2 separate regions of the Homo sapiens genome follow, and region 1 is linked to region 2. Evidence: promoter capture Hi-C in human tissues and cell types (Jung and others, 2019). All regions are on one chromosome and are shown on one strand. The core of a region is centred on a gene start or on the middle of the fragment in contact, and the rest is flanking DNA. Distances in the headings are between cores, read along the strand shown. Region 1 has its middle 22 kb from the start of SDHAF1. Region 2 holds the start of SYNE4 (spectrin repeat containing nuclear envelope family member 4).

What was found. Contacts are between HindIII fragments. The study calls those that stand out against the background at their distance.
Region 1: a contact is called between a fragment that was not itself captured here and the fragment with the promoter of SYNE4 in region 2, in 5 of the 25 tissues and cell types used here (dorsolateral prefrontal cortex, mesenchymal stem cells, mesendoderm cells and 2 more).

What each region holds. Positions count from the first base shown.
Region 1 is chr19:35,971,446-35,975,516 of GRCh38, reverse strand. No RefSeq gene overlaps it. Among named protein-coding and RNA genes, the nearest start is that of SDHAF1, 22 kb to the left of the region's middle. RefSeq lists a silencer at 1,763-1,963. The HindIII fragment of the contact is 9,546 bases long and covers 1-4,071 here.
Region 2 is chr19:36,005,927-36,010,199 of GRCh38, reverse strand. It overlaps SYNE4 (spectrin repeat containing nuclear envelope family member 4), which reads left to right and starts at 1,387. Exons shown (of 8, transcript NM_001039876.3): 1 at 1,387-1,646; 2 at 1,833-1,983; 3 at 2,932-3,075; 4 at 3,256-3,450; 5 at 3,529-3,777. The coding sequence starts at 1,519. ALKBH6 (alkB homolog 6) reads left to right here. Exons shown (of 7, transcript NM_032878.5): 7 at 647-1,080. The coding sequence ends at 910. RefSeq lists enhancers at 1,134-1,673, 1,674-2,215. The HindIII fragment of the contact is 19,934 bases long and covers 1-2,258 here.

The sequences.
Region 1 (4,071 bases), core at 836-3,335, 35 kb after region 2:
CCCTTGAGATTCTAGGATTTTGTTTTTGACAGAGTCTTGCTCTGTCGCCCAGGCTGGAGTGCAGTGGCACAATCTCGGCTCACTCCAATCTCCACCTCCTGAGTTCAAGCGATTCTCCTGTCTCAGCCTCCCTAGATTCTGGGATTATAGGCACCTGCCACCACACCCAACTAATTTTTGTATTTTTAGTAGAGATGGGGTTTCATCATATTGGTCAGGCTGGTCTTGAACTCCTGACCTCAGATTATCCGCCTGCCTCAGCCTCCTAAAGTGCTGGGATTACGGGCATGAGCCACCGCGCCTGGCAGGACCCTGTCTCTTAAAAAAGGAAGAAGCAGCCTGTGTCGCAGGCACAAGTATGCCCGCAGGGCAGTGGTAACCCCCAGTGGGCCTGCCTGTGGGGGGTCTCTGGACAGGATAAGCCACATGGCTCATAGTGATTGTTTTCGGGGCACTCAATAGCTGCAGGGGCAGGAGTGGGGATGGAGAAAGACAGGAAGGGAAAGGTATTCACACCAGGACTCCCAGGTCTGGTTTCCAAGACCCAAGCATTTGGCCACCCCTATAGTGCAAATGTCCCTGCTCTCAGCTTCCAGGAATCCCTACCAACATCCTGTGGTCCTCACCCTCTAGAATGGAGCTCTCCAGGCAACAGACCCAGCAATCCCTGCCTCACAGAGTAAAGAAGTCTCTGTGCTAAGAAACCAGAAGTCCACTCCCCAGAACATAGAAGTCTGGCTCTGGGACAGGCGTAGTGGCTCACATCTGTAATCCCAGCATTTTGGGAGGCCAAGGTGGGAGGATCACTTGAGCTCAGGAATTAGAGACCAGCCTGGGCAACATAGGAAGACCTCATCTTTACAAAAAAAATTAAAAAATTATCTGGGCATAGTGGCACATGCCCGTGGTCCCAGATACTTGGGAAGCTGAGGAGGGAGGATGGCTTGAGCCTGGGAGGTTGAGGCTGCAGTGAGCTATGATAGTACCACTGCACTCCAGCCTTGGCAACAGAGTGATACCCTGTCTAAATAAACAACAGAGTGACATCCTGTCTAAATAAATAAATAAGTCTGGCTCTGGGACTCAGAGCGCTCACCCCAGATACTGGAGTTGTCACCACCTAGGTGTTCTAGTCTCTAGAACTTGAGAACCCAGCAGTCCCAGCCCTATAGCCAAGTTGTTCCCATGCCCAGGACCCAGAAGCCCTGGCCCCAGACCCAAAGAGCCCTGTCTCTGGGCCCTAGAATTATTTTCCCCGCACCCCCCAACTCAGCAGTCTTGCCCCCAGGACCCAGAGGCTGTCCCCTTCCAGGGACCCTACACCCTTGCCCCAGGAATCAGCCTCCAGAACTAAGGAGTGTCATTCCTAAGTCCCAGAATCCCCTTTACCCAGCAGCCTATAACCCTTTCCCTTGAAGGGTCACTCACGGCAGCCAGCCCAGAAGCTCGAGGGCTCAGTGTTGACACTGAGGCCTGACAGGGTGTACACAGACATGGAAGCACTCCCAAAGCGTAGGCAGGGAGCTGGGGAAGGGGCATATCCAGGCACGGCACTGGCCTCGAAGGGTGTAGGTGTCACACTTGGTGGCAGTGGCTAAGGGGCCCCTTTGGGGCTACAGGGACAGCACAGGGCCCCCAGTCTCCTGTGGGGACTAAGGCTTGGCTCAGGGTATCAGGTGGCTGCGGGGCCCAAATGCACGAAGACCAGTGGATCTGGACTGCCCATGTCATGGTCCTGCCTGAATGAAGTCACTGCACAGTCTGCCTTGTGTGAGTGGCAACCTTCAGCCACGTGCAGTGACGTGTGTGCTGCCGGTTGTAAAAGAGATGCAGTGTGGGCGGTTCTTGCTCCAGACCTGCCTCTGCCCATGGTTCTGAGGTGTGGAAGTACAACCATAGCCATCTGTCGCCCAGGATAACTGACAGCCCCAGCTGCTGTGGGTTCCCCTGCAGGAGTGACCAAGAGCTGGGGTCTTCAGAGGGGCTGAATTCCTGAGCATCGGGGAGGGGTGGAGGATAAGGAGGTTGAGGGGGTTGGATTCTGGGATATTGAGAGTGGGGCCTTTGCAGATCTAGGATGCCCCACCCTCGTCTACTAACCAAGAATCTTTCTTTTTCTTCTTCTTCTTCTTTTTTTTTTTTTCGAGACAGAGTCTCACCCTGCCGCCCAGGTTGGAGTGCAGTGGCACAGTCTCGGCTCACTGCAAGCTCCGTCTCCTGGGTTCACGCCATTCTCCTGTCTCAGCCTCCCCAGTAGCTGGGACTACAGGCGCCTGCCACCACGCCCCGTAATTTTTTGTATTTTTAGTAGAGACAGGGTTTCACTGTGCTAGCCAGGATGGTCTCGATCTCCTGACCTTGTGATCCGCCCACCTTGGCCTCCCAAAGTGCTGTGATTACAGGTGTGAGCCACCGTGCCCAGCTAACCAAGAATCTTTCTGTGTGTGTGTGTGTGTGTGTGTGTGTGTGTGTGTGTGTGTGTGTGTGTGTGTGTTTAAGTAGAGACGAGGTTTCGTCATGTTGCCCAGGCTGGTCTGGAACTCCTGAGCTCAAGCAGTCTGCCCACCTTGGCCTCCTAAAGTGCTGGGATTGTAGATGTGAGCCACCATGCCCAGCCTCTATCCGGGAATCTTTTTTTTTTTTTTTTTTTTTTTTGAGACAGAGTCTCGCTCTGTCTCCCAGGCTGGAATGCAGTGGCGAGATCTTGGCTCACTGCAACCTCCACCTCCCAGGTTCAAGCAATTCTGCTCTCTCAGCCTCCTGAGTAGCTGGGATTACAGGCGTGCACTACCATGCCAAGCTAATTTTTGTAGTTTTAGTAGAGACAGGGTTTCACCATGTTGGTCAGGCTGGTTTTGAACTCCTGACCTCGTGATCCGCCCGCCTTGGCCTCCCAAAGTGTTGGGATTACAGGCGTGAGCCACTGTGCCCGGCCTTCTTTTTTTTTTTTTTTAAACTGGGAGTCTTGATTTCAATATCCAGATTTGTCCTAACACAATACTTGCAAGTCCTCTTCTCAGGAATCTAGATGAGTAATCCTACCAAGGAGCCAGGTGTGCCCACCTCATCCAGTAAACAGGAGAGCCTTCAGACAGGACCCAAGGGCTTCCCCCATTACCAAGAGCCTCCACCTGTCCTTCCAGATCAAGGGGTACCTCCTTTCTCCCAGTCCATGATTTCCTTATTTTGCCTCACTTGGTGGTTTCCAGCCCACATTTCTCCTGCGTTCACTGCCCCACCCTGGTCCAAGCCCCATTGTCTCCTGCCGGGACTACTGCAGCAGCCTCCTCACTGTTGTTCCTCCAGGCCTCATTCCTTCACAAGCCCTGTAATCTGTTCTCAACTGGCAGCCACAGGGATGTTGTTAGTGTCTGATATAGTTTGGCTATTTGTCCCTGCCCAAATCTTGGCAGGGCGCAGTGGCTCACGCCTGTAATCCCAGCACTTTGGGAGGCTGAGGCAGGTGGATCACCTGAGGTCAAGAGTTCCAGACCAGCCTGGCCAACATAGTGAAACCCCGTGTCTACTAAAAACACAAAAATTATCCGAGTGTGGTGGCATGTGCCTGTAGTCCCAGGCTACTTGGGAGGCTGAGGCAGGACAATTGCTTGAACCTGGGAGGCAGAGGTTGCAGTGAGCCAAGATCTCACCACTGCACTCCAGCCTGGGCAACAGAGTGAGACTCAGTCTCAAAAAAAAAAAAAAAATTCTAAAATTCCAATTAATTGAGGAAGGAACACAGGAGTGTCAAGTCCTTGGGAAAAGAGGGATCATGTTGGTGAGAGTATAAGTCTGGAGCCCTGAGTATCTGAAGGTTCTGGATACCTGGGGTGGGGGCTACTGGATGCTGGGGAGCCTTAAGAGCACTGGGGGGCATCCTGACCCCTGAGTGGCAGGGCAAACTCCCAGGCGGTGTGGAGGCAGGTATGCAGCATCATGGCTTCACGTCTCGGGTCCTAGCTTTGCATATTTTCTGTGCTTTCCATATATTAGCTCATTTAATCCTCACTACAGCCCTATGAATCAGATCTTTTCATCATTCTCATTTCACATATGAAGAAATTGAGGCCC
Region 2 (4,273 bases), core at 138-2,637:
GAATGTGATTTGGGGTGCAGGACACCCCCAGATTCTCCTTGACCCCTTGACACAATTTCTCTGAGTGATGCATTTCTAGCACCCCAGTGTTCACAGAAACGCCCCTGAACACGCCGACCCACTCCTTGAGGCTTGCCCTCGAGCCCTGCATGCTCCTGGATGCTCTGACACTCCCTCAGCTGTGCGGTTGTCCTCTAATGTCCTGATGTCCTTGGGAACCCCCACTGCCTCTAACCTCTGCCTCACTCTCTCCTCACCTGGTCCTGGCTTCAGCCATGCTCTCTCAGCCCAGCTCTGCCTGTATTTCCTGGGGACTGCCTATTCCTGGGTCCCAGCCCCAGCCTCAGCCCCTTTGAGATCCCAGCTGCAGCTCCCACCGGCCGCTGACCCTTTGACGCCCCCATCTGCCACCTAGATCCTGCCCCCTCCCGAGGGACGGCAGAGCCCTCGCCCTCCCTTTCCAGCAGCCCCAGCCCAGGCCCCAGCAATTTTCACTCCTGAACCACCAAAGCCTCCATCATTGTGAGCACACTTGCTCTTCAGCTTTTGCCCCTGGGGACTAGCTGATCCCCGGAGGCTACCGACCTCTCGCCCACCCCCACCCCCCGACTTCTTGAGCCCTGCTGACCCTCAACCCGCCCTGCAGCCTCGGCCTCCGCCCCGGCCCACCACCTCGCTACTGCTGGAACCGCGCAGCCTGCTGGTGCTCCGCGGCCCCGCCTACACGCGTCTTCTCCACGGCATCGCCGCCGCCCGCGTAGACGCGCTGGACGCCGCCTCCTCGCCGCCCAATGCGGCAGCCTGCCCGTCGGCGCGGCCGGGAGCCTGCCTGGTGCGCGGCACCCGGGTCTCGCTGACCATCCGCCGCGTGCCCCGCGTGCTGCGCGCCGGCCTCCTGCTGGGCAAGTGACCGCCAGGGCCGGGACCCCTCGGATTCCCAGGTTCCTGCCCCTTTGGGGCTGCTGTGACTCCGCGACCTAGGAACCGTGGGCAAAGGGGGCTCCCCTGGGTTATTTATTTTCCCAATAATTTTGTGTGAGCTACAGAAGACCCCATACCAAATAAACAAAAAAATCTTTCCTTGGTTTTATATTTTTATTTTTTAGGGGCCAGATGCTTGGTTTCCTGAGGGGAGCGGCATCTAGGGTCTTAAATGAATGGGGTAGGCCCTGGAGGTCCGATTTCTGGGTTCCCAGTGGGGCAGAATCCAGGGCTCTTGAGGAGGTGGCGCAGGGGTTCTATCTGGAACCCTCTTGGATGGCGTGGAGTGATGCTGGGAGATTTAGCTACTGGCCTGCTAGGGAGGAAGGAGTTAAGTGACTCTTCTGTCACCTGAGCTGGGCATCAAATGGCCGGGTCCAGGTTCCTCTTGGAAGGGGCGGAGCCAGACCTGTCCTGGGCCTCTCCTGCAGCCTCAGGCCCGGGTGACTCCAGCGGAGGAGCTCTGGGACACCCTTGTCTAGGGAAGAGGTCTTACTGGCTGCCCTCACCTGACTTTGTGTCCCCAGGCCCCCAGCCATGGCCCTGTCCCTGCCTCTGGGCCCTAGACTTGGCTCAGAGCCCCTCAACCACCCACCGGGAGCACCTAGAGAGGCGGACATTGTTGGATGCACCGTCTGCCCCGCGTCCGGAGAGGAGAGCACGAGGTGGGGGCCGGGGCTTTGGAAGCTTGTTCCCAAAAGGGTAGGCGTGGTGGCAGGGGCCATGTGAGGGTAGGAGGTGCCATGGCTGTGATCGCCTGGGGACATAGGAGAGGCCACCAGGGTTGGGGTGACGGTAGGCTGAAAAGTGAGGTGTCGAGACTCACCCAGTCACCGCCCCCTGCCTCCTAGCCCAGAGCAGGCCCAGACCCTGGGACAGGACTCCTTGGGCCCTCCTGAGCACTTCCAGGGTGGGCCAAGGGGCAATGAGCCTGCCGCTCACCCCCCGAGATGGTCAACACCCTCTTCCTACGAGGACCCAGCTGGGGGCAAACACTGTGAGGTGAGCTGAGGTGACCCAGACCCCTTGTGCCAGCCCCACCTCCTCTCTGTCCCCTGGAGTCTGGCCTCCATACTGAGGACCGGGTGATGATTCTGGAAAGGTGTTGGGTGTCTGTAGGGGGAGGGACCTTCTGGAAAAGTGTTTCAATATCTGACCAACTGGGGAGACGTATTTCTTTCTTTCTTTTTTTTTTTGAGATGGAGTCTCTCTGTCACCTAGGCTGGAATGCAGTGGTGAGATCTCTGCTCACTGCAACCTCCGCCTCCCAGGTCCCAGTGATTCTCCTGCCTCAGCCACCCGAGTAGCTGGGATTACAGGCACATGCCACCATACCTGGCTAATTTTTTGTATTTTTAGTAGAGATGGGTTTTCGACTTGTTGGCCAGGCTAGTCTCGAACTCCCGACCTCAGGTGATCCACCCACCTCAGCCTCCCGAAGTGCTGGGATTACAGGCGTGCGTCACCGTGTCCAGCCATATTTCTTTTTTATTAAAAAAAAAAAAGTAGAGATGATGTCTCACCATGTTGCCCAGGCTGGTCTTGAACTCCTGGGCTCAAGTGATCCTCGGGCCTCGGCCTCCCAAAGTGCTGGGATTACAGATGTGAACCACTGCGCCCGGCTGAGAAGCATTTCATCATTGCTCCTGGTGTAGCCCCATTCTTCTTGGGGGGTACCCAGCCCCGCTCCCTGTCCAGACCCCCCAGGCCTCACACATCCAAGTTTCCAGGAGCTTTGAAAACCTGGAGACCTTGAACTAGATATCTGTCCTCAGGCCTGGCTCCACTGGGAAGGCCCCCCCAGTGGGAGCCATCCTGGTGCAGACAGACCCGGAGATGGACTGTGCCACAGAGAAGTTTCCAGAAGCTTACAGAAGAGGGGTGGGGATGGGAGCAGGGGTGATATCTTGATTGGCCCACTGGCCCTGACCTGGCTCCTGTGTTCCCCAGCACCCCATTTCTGGCCTGGAGGTACTAGAGGCTGAGCAGAACAGCCTGCACCTGTGCCTGCTGGGGCTGGGCCGCCGGCTGCAGGACCTGGAGCAAGGCCTGGGGCACTGGGCATTGGCCCAGAGTGGGATGGTGCAGCTGCAGGTAGGCAGGAGAGGCCAGGATGTGGGGGTGGGCACGGCCCCAGCAGTGGGTGCCAGCTTTCCGGGATGGGAAATGGGTTGAGTGCATGTTCCAGGCCTTTGGATAGGAAATGGGGGAGGGGGGTAACTCCAGGTTTTGGGTCCCTGGTGTGTGCGTGGGGTGATGTCCATATGTCCCCAGGCCCTCCAGGTGGACCTACGAGGGGCAGCTGAGCGTGTGGAGGCGCTGCTAGCGTTTGGTGAGGGGCTGGCACAGCGGAGTGAGCCCAGGGCCTGGGCAGCCCTGGAGCAGATCCTGCGGGCCCTGGGAGCTTACCGAGACTCCATCTTCCGGCGGCTCTGGCAGCTGCAGGCCCAGCTGGTCAGCTACAGCCTGGTAGGGCCCATCTTGATACCCCCCACCCAACCCAGGCCCCAACCTCATAGCCTCCATGACCTCTGTCCTTTGACCCAGGTGTTCGAGGAGGCCAACACGCTGGACCAGGACTTGGAGGTCGAGGGAGACTCGGACTGGCCAGGACCTGGTGGGGTCTGGGGGCCCTGGGCACCCAGTAGCCTCCCCACTTCCACAGAGTTGGAGTGGGATCCGGCGGGGGACATTGGGGGCCTTGGGCCCTTGGGACAAAAGACAGCCCGGACACTAGGAGTGCCCTGTGAGCTGTGTGGCCAGAGGGGGCCCCAGGGCAGGGGACAAGGCCTTGAGGTGAGAGCAGACCCCCTTGAGGGACCTTCTGCCAGGCACCCTGGGGACATCTCTGCGCACCTTCTAGCAAGATCCTGCCCTTCCAAGGAGGTGTCAGTGGCTCTGTCTCCCCCTCTATCTCTGTCTCTCGGTGTCTCCTTCTATCTCACTGTTTCTCTCTCTCGTCTGTCTCTGTCTACATCCTCAAGCCCCATCTCAAATTCACTCCTATCCTGAGGCCCCCAGATGATGCCCCACTCACCTCCTGACTGTCCCAGTCTCTCCTGAAGTGCCACCTCTTCAGGGAGGCCTGTCGTGACCTCCAAACATGAGCACTCCTATCTTCTTACTTTATTTCCTAACAGCACTCACCACAGCTTGACTTTGTACATTTACTTATTTTTAAAAATTTTTATTTATTTTTTGAGATGGAGTCTCACTCTGTCACCCAGGCTGGAGTGTAGTGGTGCAATCCTGGCTCACTGCAAACTCTGCCTCCCAGGTTCAAGAGATTCTC